Regions from separate parts of the Homo sapiens genome. Here region 2 is linked to region 1. Evidence: promoter capture Hi-C in 16 types of primary human blood cells and fetal thymus (Javierre and others, 2016). All regions are on one chromosome and are shown on one strand. The core of a region is centred on a gene start or on the middle of the fragment in contact, and the rest is flanking DNA. Distances in the headings are between cores, read along the strand shown. Region 1 holds the start of CPED1 (cadherin like and PC-esterase domain containing 1). Region 2 has its middle 160 kb from the start of FAM3C.

Region 1 (5,416 bases), core at 2,841-5,340:
CATAGATACAACTGCAACAAAAAAGGCTGGGAAATATGTATTACTTATTCAATGAATAAAAACTCTGATCCAAGAAGTTTTTACTTCTGTGTATTTACTTTGGTTTCTGAATATTTATCCCTGCAAACACTAAAACATTCACTGAAACACTTGTTCTAATATGCTCAGTTGAAGTCTTTAACTATGATTTTTTGATTTTAGGTTTTTAAATCTACATCCAGTTTACACATCCTGGAGGGGCAGTTAGTTTAACATGTAAACATACTGGTTGTTAAGCATTTGTAGTGGTTCTTAGCATGTTTTTAGTTCTGAATATCTGACATAAATCTATAATTTTCCCCCCAAAGATCTTCACATACACCTACATTACAGTATTTTGCATAAAATGTCATGGATGTATACATTTCATACATCTAAATACATTCTGGAATCCATGAACCCTAGGTCAAAATCAGCTGGTTTAAGTAACTTTTAAAAACACTTAAAGCAAAGATTTGACTAAGATTTGACTAAATAAAAGTAATAACAAAATCCAAAATTTACAGATAGAAACAATGCTACTTCTATAAAATGCCTCAAAGCTAATTCTAGGTTTTCAGGAAACCTATATAGCATCTAATCAGTTTTTTTAAATGAACTTCACAAGTAGTTACTTTAGAAAATGATCAATATATTGATCCCAAAAGCTTTCTCTCTTCATTTTAGCCATCTGAAAGAGTATCTAATAATTTAAATTGGAGTATGATTTGACTCTTTTTTCAAAACATATACTATAAGTAGAATTAATTTGTATCTGGTTTTAATTAACATGTGTATGATACTTTCTTTCTCACTTCCTTTCTGTCTCAAATAAAAAGTGGCTTTAATCCAGGGGCTGGCATAGGTTAAAAATGGAGTGACATGGCTAATGTTTGGAAATCTACTTTCCATATCCACTGGGCTCCTGAACTATAATTGTAAATTTAGAATCTTGCTTACAGTTAAAATACTTAAGACTGTGAATCATTTTTAAACGAAATTCATCATGTGTTTGGCATTTTTGGTGAAGAAAATTCTCAAGTGAATGTTTTACACCAGGAGCCAGTAAGTTTCAGATGGTTTATAAGTAGTAGGAGATTCAAAGTTGAAATCGAATTTTCTATGACAGCCCACAAATAACAGCTAACATATGCCTAAATTACAAACAAAGTAGGAATCACACAGAGTGAACAAGGGGAGTAAGAAAGCTGTAAGTTCATGAATAAAACCTTTTCATTCAAAATTCCTAGCAAAAATTTTAGGCATTAAATAAGAGCAAGACTATCTCAACTATTTTTTAAGAAATTGCCTTTCTCAATGTTGAAACTAACAAGAAATGACTTTAACAGTCACAGTTTACATCCATTGTAACTGTGATGTAGTCAGGAAAAGAAAAAAGTTAATGCTAGTATAAATGAACAACAACAACAAAAATACACATTCTTCAATAACTTTACTGTGCCTAAAAATAGATGTACAATTTCAGTTGCAGTTTCATTTTAAAGTGTTTCAACTTATATTATCTACTATTCTTTGTCATAAGATAGTTCTTGGTCAGGATGTTTCCTGGCATTACGGATAACAAATGAAGTCACTTAAAAGTTTAAAATTTTCCTTGTTTTAACTTAATGTTATTTTGTATTTCAGTAAGTTCTTGTAGTTGTGGTTTCAAAAATTATTACAAGGGCTTTGAATTGACTTTTATTTGGAGCATCAGCCCTGCAGTAGGAACCAAGCAGCTTGATAGCTATTGCTCTGGGGATGCATCTTGTCATAATGCTAACCATGTGACCTACCTAAATGGCACTGTCAGGCTCCTTGTTCATAAAATGCTAATAATCCTATCTACTGTACCTGTCTCACAGGGCAGTAGTCTGAAACGAAATAAATAAAAGAGTTTTTAAAAGAAGTGGTGCTGGTCAATCGTGGAGGTTTTGGTAATAATGGTAGCAACGGAGCTGGTGTTCAAGTAGAAATTCTACTTCAAACGGTAACCGGCATCATAAGATCGACCAGAATCTACTGTAGATATAAGATGCTACTTACAGAGCCCTCTATTTTGTTGCTACAATACTACTTGTTGTAACATAAAATTTAGTAGCTTTGCCACCATGATCTTTTTTGCATGGATTTTTTTTTATTTCTTCATGTTCTGTTTTACACTTGACTATGTTACAGGTCATTATATTACTGATAGGCATGAGGAGAGTGGTATATTAAAATAGAAATCCTGTGTTACTTTGTGTGCTTTTTGTGTTTTTTTTCAATATTTGACAAGTAAGATTAGTAAGTTTATCTGAATAGTATAAATATAGAATAATCTGTATTTCCCTGATCCTATAAACAATAAAATACATTGTATCAATTCTTTTGAAGAAACCTATTATCCTATTATTTTAATGCTTTCGAAGTAAATATATTGCTTTAGAAATGTGGTCACCAATTAAGAATCAATCTAGCTAGTTACAAAATGAAACTTTGGAGAATCTTTGAGTCTGGAATGGTCTGGGCACTCATACTGACTGCCTTGAGAAAAGAGACACTCAAGGTTTATCAAAGTTTTTGAAACTTTGATTTATGTTTTTGAATTGTAAATCCTCAGATCTCTTAGAATACTGATATTTTAGAAAGAATCCACATCATTTTATGCCTCCTCCAAACTGTCTACTTCATTCCACTGAAATGAAGTGAAATCCTAAGAGATAAAGTAATGCCAGAACTTTCTGGAAGTAACTATAAGAAGTTGAAGCTTATGTAACGTGTTTCCCAGTCATCAGGTCACTCTCTAGGCTGTTTACACTCTGGATCCCTTTCAGACCTCATGGAAGTTAATTTTAGTTTTATAGAAAGGACAGAGAAGCAGATTGCTGTCTTTGCAGAAACTGTCTCCGTTAAGCTTATGAGAGTCTTACCTTTCTGGTTTCCTGGGCATTACCAGAGAGAAGGAAGCACTGTTTGTCCTGAGAGAATCCTTTCTTGCATCTGCTTGCCTGGGTTTCAGTGGATGTGTGTGGGACAGCCCCAGGGGCAGCGGCTGTGAGCTTCCTCGACCCTCGGAGGGTCAGAGTCTGGTAGAAGAGACAGATTGCCACCACTAAGCCCACCAAGAAGGGTCGGGGGCAAAATCGCCGACGACAAGGGAACACTGGGCGACAGACCATGACCAGTTCAGCTTCACTTGGCCCCTGTCCACGTTGCGGGAAAAGTCATAGCAGCTATTTTTTGTCAGCATGAAAAATACTAATCTGTCTTCTTTTTCCCCAACTCCAATCAAGTTTGCTTCATCCCTGCTTAAGAATTTTCCAAAAGGTTGTGCCAAAGAATCATAGGTCCCGAAAGTCTGAGGCTTTTAATAAGAGCTCTTCCATGGATGACAGTCAAAAGTGGATGACCTGAGTTTAAAAAAAGACATCAAATAATAATAGTTGTAACGAATAACCTGAGTGTACCCCAGGCTGCCAAACTGTTGCTTCCAGCAATGCCTTATTCTCACATCTTTCAACTCACAGTAAAGGAGTCCGACTCTGCCTCAGCTTTGCAGGAAGAGAGAAAACAATACCAAAGTATATCTGGAGTCTGAAAACAGCATTGAAGAACGCAAAAGATTAAAACCCAAAGTGCCTGTTGCACAGCTGAACTCAGGCCAGGTTGCCTTAGCAGTTCCTCAATTTTCCTCCGGTTTTAAAGCAGTCTTGCTTTCAGCCTTTTGTATGCTTCCCTTCATTTAGTTTTAAATTCCCACTGTCCTGTAAGTATTCACGGCTTTTAACATAAAAAGGGCATACGCAATTTGAATGGACATGGTTACTGTCAGGGTTTTTGCTTGAATTTGTTTCATTCCGTCTCAAGTTCAAAGTTCTATGTACTTACTCAGTTTTCATCCTTTTAGCCAGGAAAAAAAAAGTTTCCATGATTTCCTAATGGATTGCTGATGAAAACCACTCGGAAGGAAACACCCAGTCGTATGACTCCAATTCATCTCACACACACACAGAGAGAGACACACACACACACGCACACAGACACATAAACACACGCGCGCGCGCCCGCTGCACGCCCGGCGGGAGCAGAGGACCTCGGCATCGCAGCCACCCGGGGCCGGGCAGAGCGGGGCGGAGCTAAGGCCGGGTTCCTCTGGCCCTGGGGGCTGCTGGAGCAGCGCTGTCAGCCCTGTGTCCGAAACCGTGGGCTTCCCCACTTTGGAAACAGCAGCTAGCATTTCCCCAAATGAGGCTGCCCACCCAGAGCTGCAGAATTTAGAAACGTATCTGATGTCTGATCCTCTGTGCAACTTCTTTTTCCTAATACAGAATTGGAAAAACAAATAGCCTTAGCCAATTGGTGACAAAGGTCGAGAATGAGACTAAAGTGAACTCCATGAGTGAATTGGGATATTCTTCACTCCAGGGAATTGTGGTTACTCTTCTGAGGATAAGAGGGTCACAAGTACTGTCTGGACCTCAGACAGCAAGCACCAGAATAACTCAGTCGTCTCTCTGTGTCTTAGTATGGAACTCAGATCACAGATGTTCTTATTACTCCTTTCCTGGACTAATTAATTGGGTCTTTCAATGATCTGATGCTTCATGGCCTGACATTTTGCTCCTAAAATGAGTCGATTATAGCAGGTGTTGGGGGTAACTTTTGCCCAGTAGATAAAGGTACACAGTGGGCTTTGTCCAGAATCAGCTCAGTCTAATTCTGTGCAGACCTTCGGGTGGACGCTGCTAATAGTGCAATTCTGCAAACCCCCTTCCACTTTTGCTGAGGCTGTCAAGGCGAAAGGAAATCAGTCCTTGCTTTGTGAACTCTGGATACCCAGGGCTGTCTTAGCGCATAGCAGGCATTATTTAAAGGCTCTGGACCTGAAGAGGTTTTCAAACTTGTTTCTAAGCCAAACTCTTGTGGGTTGAGGTTCTCCGTGAGGCCACACCCCTAGAGTGAGCCTCACCCAGAGGCACGCTGCTGTCAGCCCCTTGTATTTTGAGAGACGGAGCGCCCCCTAGGGGTGCCCAGCTAGCACAGATTCAGAGAAATGGGCATCTAGAGTTCCTTGCTTGTGAGAAAGAAACCCTTTTAACATCCTATAGAACAAATTAATTAACACATTACAGAAGAAATATTCACACGGAAGCTGGATTTATCCCAAGCCCTTGCATGTATCGCCTCCAGTGGCTTTAATATTATTTTATGTATAGGTTCAGAGTCCTTAATCTTATGACAAATGGGATAGAGAAAAATAAAGTGATGCTTCACTTTTAGAAGCCAAAAGAGTTTTAAGAGAAAATGGCTGAACAGTGGTGTTGTAGGACATATCGTTTTGGTGGATGCAATGTGATTTGAGAGATAATAAGAATTGTGAGATTTCTAAATTGGAATCCAGGGTGTGACAATGCTG
Region 2 (4,688 bases), core at 128-2,627, 570 kb before region 1:
TTTTATGAATTATTTTAGTACTAAATGTTAACATATATCATTAAAATACTAGAATTAGAGCTACCAGATAATTTATCACCCAAACTAGGACACTTTTGTGAATAAAAGTAGACACAAAAATAATGAAAATTGTATACTATTTGAGATACTTATTTACTGATTTATCATTTGATGCTATTTGTAGACATAAGTAATGATTCTATTCACATATCATTTTCAGGGACTTCTGCTTCTAGATTTGATAATTAATAGCAAACACATTTGATCTTTCACTTTAAGCAATTTTAAAATGGACAAAATATACAAAGCAGATTTCATACATTGGACAAAAGGCAGCTCAGGAAAGGGATCCCCTGAGAGAATAGAGCAAATGAAGTAAGCTTAGGATTGTTCTAGCTTACTCCCAAAAAAAGTGTCCAGGGAAGGGGGACCCAAACCACAGGCTGGCAGACTTGCTTAGTGGAAAGACAGAGTTGCCAATTCGGAGAGGCCAAGAAAATAGAATTTGCAGTGCAGAATACCAGAGAAGAGAAAGCTGTATGGAGCAGAGAGAGCTTTACAAAGAGAGAGCCCAGAAAAGTAGGAAGAGTTCCCCTCAAGTCTTCAGGTAAGTACCAATCAATACATGCACGTGAGAAAACTACCCAAAACTGGAGAGAAAAATATCAGAAATAATGAAACGCAACAATCCTCATAGCTCATGTAGAGTCTGAAATAGTGTTTTCCCAGTAGTCAGAGTGTAAACCTCTCTTAATTCATATGACAAAAAATGAGTCCTGGACTAAAGGCTGCTCAGGCTTTGCCTAGCAAATTTTAAAAGCAGGCTTCAAAAGGATTGTACTGTTTTCAAGTAACAAACTGAGCCTCAGAACAAGATTCAATAATATGAACAGGAGTGTATAAGTATCCAGCATCCAGCACGTTAAAATTCACATTGCATGGCATCCAAACAAAACTGACAGACATGAAAGGGAAATGTGACCCATATGGGGAAAATTAAATCAATAGAAACAGATCCAAAAATGAAACAAATATAGAATTAGTAGACAAGGTCATCAAGACCGTTATTACAACTAGATTCCATATGTTCAAGAAAATAAAGGAAATCATGAGAACATTAAAGAAGAGCATAAAGATGTAAAAAAAAAAAAGACCTGAATTAAACTTCTAGAGATGAAAATGTAATATCTGAGTGAAAAAATATATACTTGGATGGAATTAACAGCAGATCGAATACTGCTGATCAAAAATAGAAGCTGCATCCAAAAAAATTGCCATAAGTCAAGTTACTCCAAAATGAAGTAGAATTTCAAAATTTGTACACCATCTGGGGCCTTTTCATTGATTTTGTTCAGTTTATCCCTTGCTTTTATTTTATAGGACTAAATTTCCATGTCTTTCTGTTTGCAGGATTTGACTATAATTGCAATTATCTAAAAATGTCAAAGATTGTTGACACTTTGACATTAAAAATGTCAAGAGATTGTTGGTACTCCATTAAATAATTCATTTAAACATTTCCAACTGATTTTGAATAAAACGCAAAAAAAAGAGGACTCACTTTTCAAAGTTCAATACCACTATAAAATACTAAAGGAAATTTATTAGGTTAATAGGCAGCAAAGAAAAAAGCATGTGCCACCATAGTAACTTATTTTTTAACTTGTCACAAAAAAGTTTATACTTCAGTTACTCAGTTGTGTATATGTAAAAACACATAGATAAATTTCAGCAACCATAGGTTTTGATTAATACAATACAGATGTTTATTTAGATATAATGACAAGTTGAATGTGCATGACAATTCCAAGTATATTTGCTCCATAAATAATTTAATTATAGCATTGTGTTTACTATGGCCCTGTTTTCCATAAACATTTTATTCACGTTGTCTCATCAAAACATAAAACTTTTTCTTCAATATTGAACATTTAATTTAATGTATAGTACCAATCATAATAAGGATGTTCCCCAACTTACAGTGGTTGGACTTAATGCTTTTCAACTTTACAACAATGTGAAATCAATATGCATTTAGTAGAAATTGTACTTTTAGTGCTCATACAACTGTTCTATTTTTCACTTTCAGTATGGTATTCAACAAATTACATAAGATATTAAGCACTTTATTATAAAATAGACTTTGTGTGAGATGAATTTGCCCAACTGTAGGCTAATGGAAAGTTCCTGAGCGCATTTAAGGTAGACTAGGTTAAGCTATGATGTTTGGTAGGTTGGTTATATTAAATGCATTTTCAGCTTCTGATATTTTCAATTCATGATGAGCTTATGGAGAGGTGATCCCATAGTAAGACAAGGAGCATCTGTAGTGTCAGATATTTCACTTTCAGTTAAATTAAATTTCAGAAGCTTTTCGCTGGTTCCATGAGTTGAATTTTAAAAATTGAACCATTGGAATTAATGTATCTGACTTTCTATGTGAAGCATCTGGTGTCACTGCCAAAAGTTAGACTTTCTTTAACTGTTTGTGAAATTCTAACCAAACCAACACGTTAATAACTATTGCTTCACTTTTTGTACATGTAAAAAATGGAAATCAGAAAAGAGTGAAGTTAATTCAAAGAAGACTTGTTTAATTTAATGAAATATTATGTACAACCTTCCTAACATGACTACCTACTACCAACTTCTGAAGGGAATGCTCAAGCATCTTAAGAATATTTTTATTTTTGGATGTTCACACGGTCCGTGATGTTACTACAGCTTTCATAGTTGGATGGTAAACATCCTCAAAGCTTGCACAATCTTATTATGTGCATCATTGCATTTATTAGGAAATGAATGTTTAGGTGCTTAATTTCCCATTAAATATAGACTTTGGATTTTTGTTTGTTTTTTTGTTTTGTTTTAAGCTCATTGATGTCAAAAAAGTTTGTTGCAAAAGAAAAAAACAAAAGACTAACCAAAAAATGTGATCCCTAAGGGAATACTACTTATTATACCCTATATAATAAATAACTAAACCACTGTAGCAATAACATTCGGCCCACTTTGATGCATTATTCAGAATAACTGTTCAGACTCTTATTTCTCCAAATTACTTCATGCACATCTAACTTATAGTTTCCAGTGTTTCCCAGTGATGCAGCAGATTGGTGACTGCAGGTTTGTGAATCTCAAAGGCTAATACAAAGCTATGGAACATGGGCTTATATGCCACGTGGCCAGCAGAGGCAGAAGCTTCAAGTATTTTTCCATCCCGCTCTACACTGGAGCTAATCTATCCCTTGTCACTCACATTCAGTGCATTTATCTGAGAGTGTCTTTCATGCTGTGCCTGAAAGAAAGGGGATAATTGTGTTTTGTCTGAAAAGAGATGGGAAAAGATGAATAGCTGATCATCTTCTAGATTGAAGTGCAAGTTTAAGTAAGAACTCCATACATTGGACAGCAGAAATTCTAAATACAATGTGAAGGTCCACCAAATCTATCCCTGATTATTTTAATGCAATTGTTAATGTTGCTATTTTATTTTAAAAATTAATAAACAAAGAATCTAGGATGTATGCTAAAATTGAAAGGGTCCCAGGACAAAGAGAATAAATGAGAATTGTAAGCCGAGTCATACGATTACACTAACTGGAATGGTAGATACTATGTTTAGTACAATTGCTTGTTTTTTGCTTTTATTACTTCTATTCATCTTTTTTTAAGCTAAGAACTGATTGCTTACTTTAAGGCAACACTGTACAAAGCACTTTCAGTCATTATCTCTCAGAATACTTACAAAAAAACTACTAGAGGTTATACAAGTGGCATGAACTAGTGTTCATTGTAGAACTGGAATTTTCATCTAGTTCTAATACCAAGGCCTGTGCTCTTAATGGCGATTATGTTTCGTTCAAGTGCTCTATATTATAGAAAGCCTTGCCTGAAATTCTCCTGTTCCAATTTGCTATTGCTGCCTAGCAAATCCCCACAAACTTAGTGGCATAAAACAATCACAATTTTATTGTGGTTTTATTGCTCATGGATTCTATGAGTCAGAAATTTCCACCAGGCACAACCTAGATGGCTTGTTTCTGTCCTGGGATGATTGAGGCCTGAGCTAAGAGAGACACAAGTGGCTCAGGATGGAATTATCTAAAGGTTTCTTCACTCACACATCTGATGTTGGGGCTGGATGAGCCTGAGGCTGGGTTCAGGAGGAACCAGAGTCTGCACAGGACCTCTCCAAGGGGCTTGGGCTTCTCGCTGAGTGGCAGTTGGGTTCTGAGAGGAAGTATCCAGAGCATGAGCATTCCAAAGGAACCAGGAAGAAGCTTCAGCCTCAGAAGTCACTTTGGTTCATTTCCACCACACTGTGTTGCTCAAAACAGGTACAAGCCTCCCAAATTCCAGGAGAAAGAACATAAATCCCACCTCTCAGGGGGAGGAGTCTGAAGAAATTTAAGACCATGTTTAAATGTCTGCATCTTTTTACAACACACACACACACCTCACAACTCCTCTGTGTTCACATGGTACTTTGTACAGGCAGCTGTCTGATCACCTCCTACATATTATAGCACTAAAGTGTTTATATACAACCTTTCTCTACAGGACTGTGTGTTTCTTAAGGTGCAGGACTCCATTTTATTCCCAGAATTTAGCACAATGTATGGCACTTAGTAGTTGCTCCATAATCGTGTGTTAAATAATTGGTTGAGGGATGGATTGGATAAGAA

What was found. The method cuts DNA at HindIII sites, captures the fragments that hold promoters and counts their contacts. A CHiCAGO score of 5 or more calls a contact.
Region 2: a fragment that was not itself captured here is called in contact with the fragment with the promoter of CPED1 in region 1 in 1 of 17 cell types (total B cells); the score reaches 7.9 in total B cells.

What each region holds. Positions count from the first base shown.
Region 1 is chr7:120,987,385-120,992,800 of GRCh38, reverse strand. It overlaps CPED1 (cadherin like and PC-esterase domain containing 1), which reads right to left and starts at 4,090. Exons shown (of 23, transcript NM_024913.5): 1 at 3,889-4,090; 2 at 2,931-3,410. The coding sequence starts at 3,179. RefSeq lists an enhancer at 4,835-4,914. The HindIII fragment of the contact is 5,089 bases long and covers 2,917-5,416 here.
Region 2 is chr7:121,557,036-121,561,723 of GRCh38, reverse strand. No RefSeq gene overlaps it. Among named protein-coding and RNA genes, the nearest start is that of FAM3C, 160 kb to the right of the region's middle. The HindIII fragment of the contact is 1,990 bases long and covers 383-2,372 here.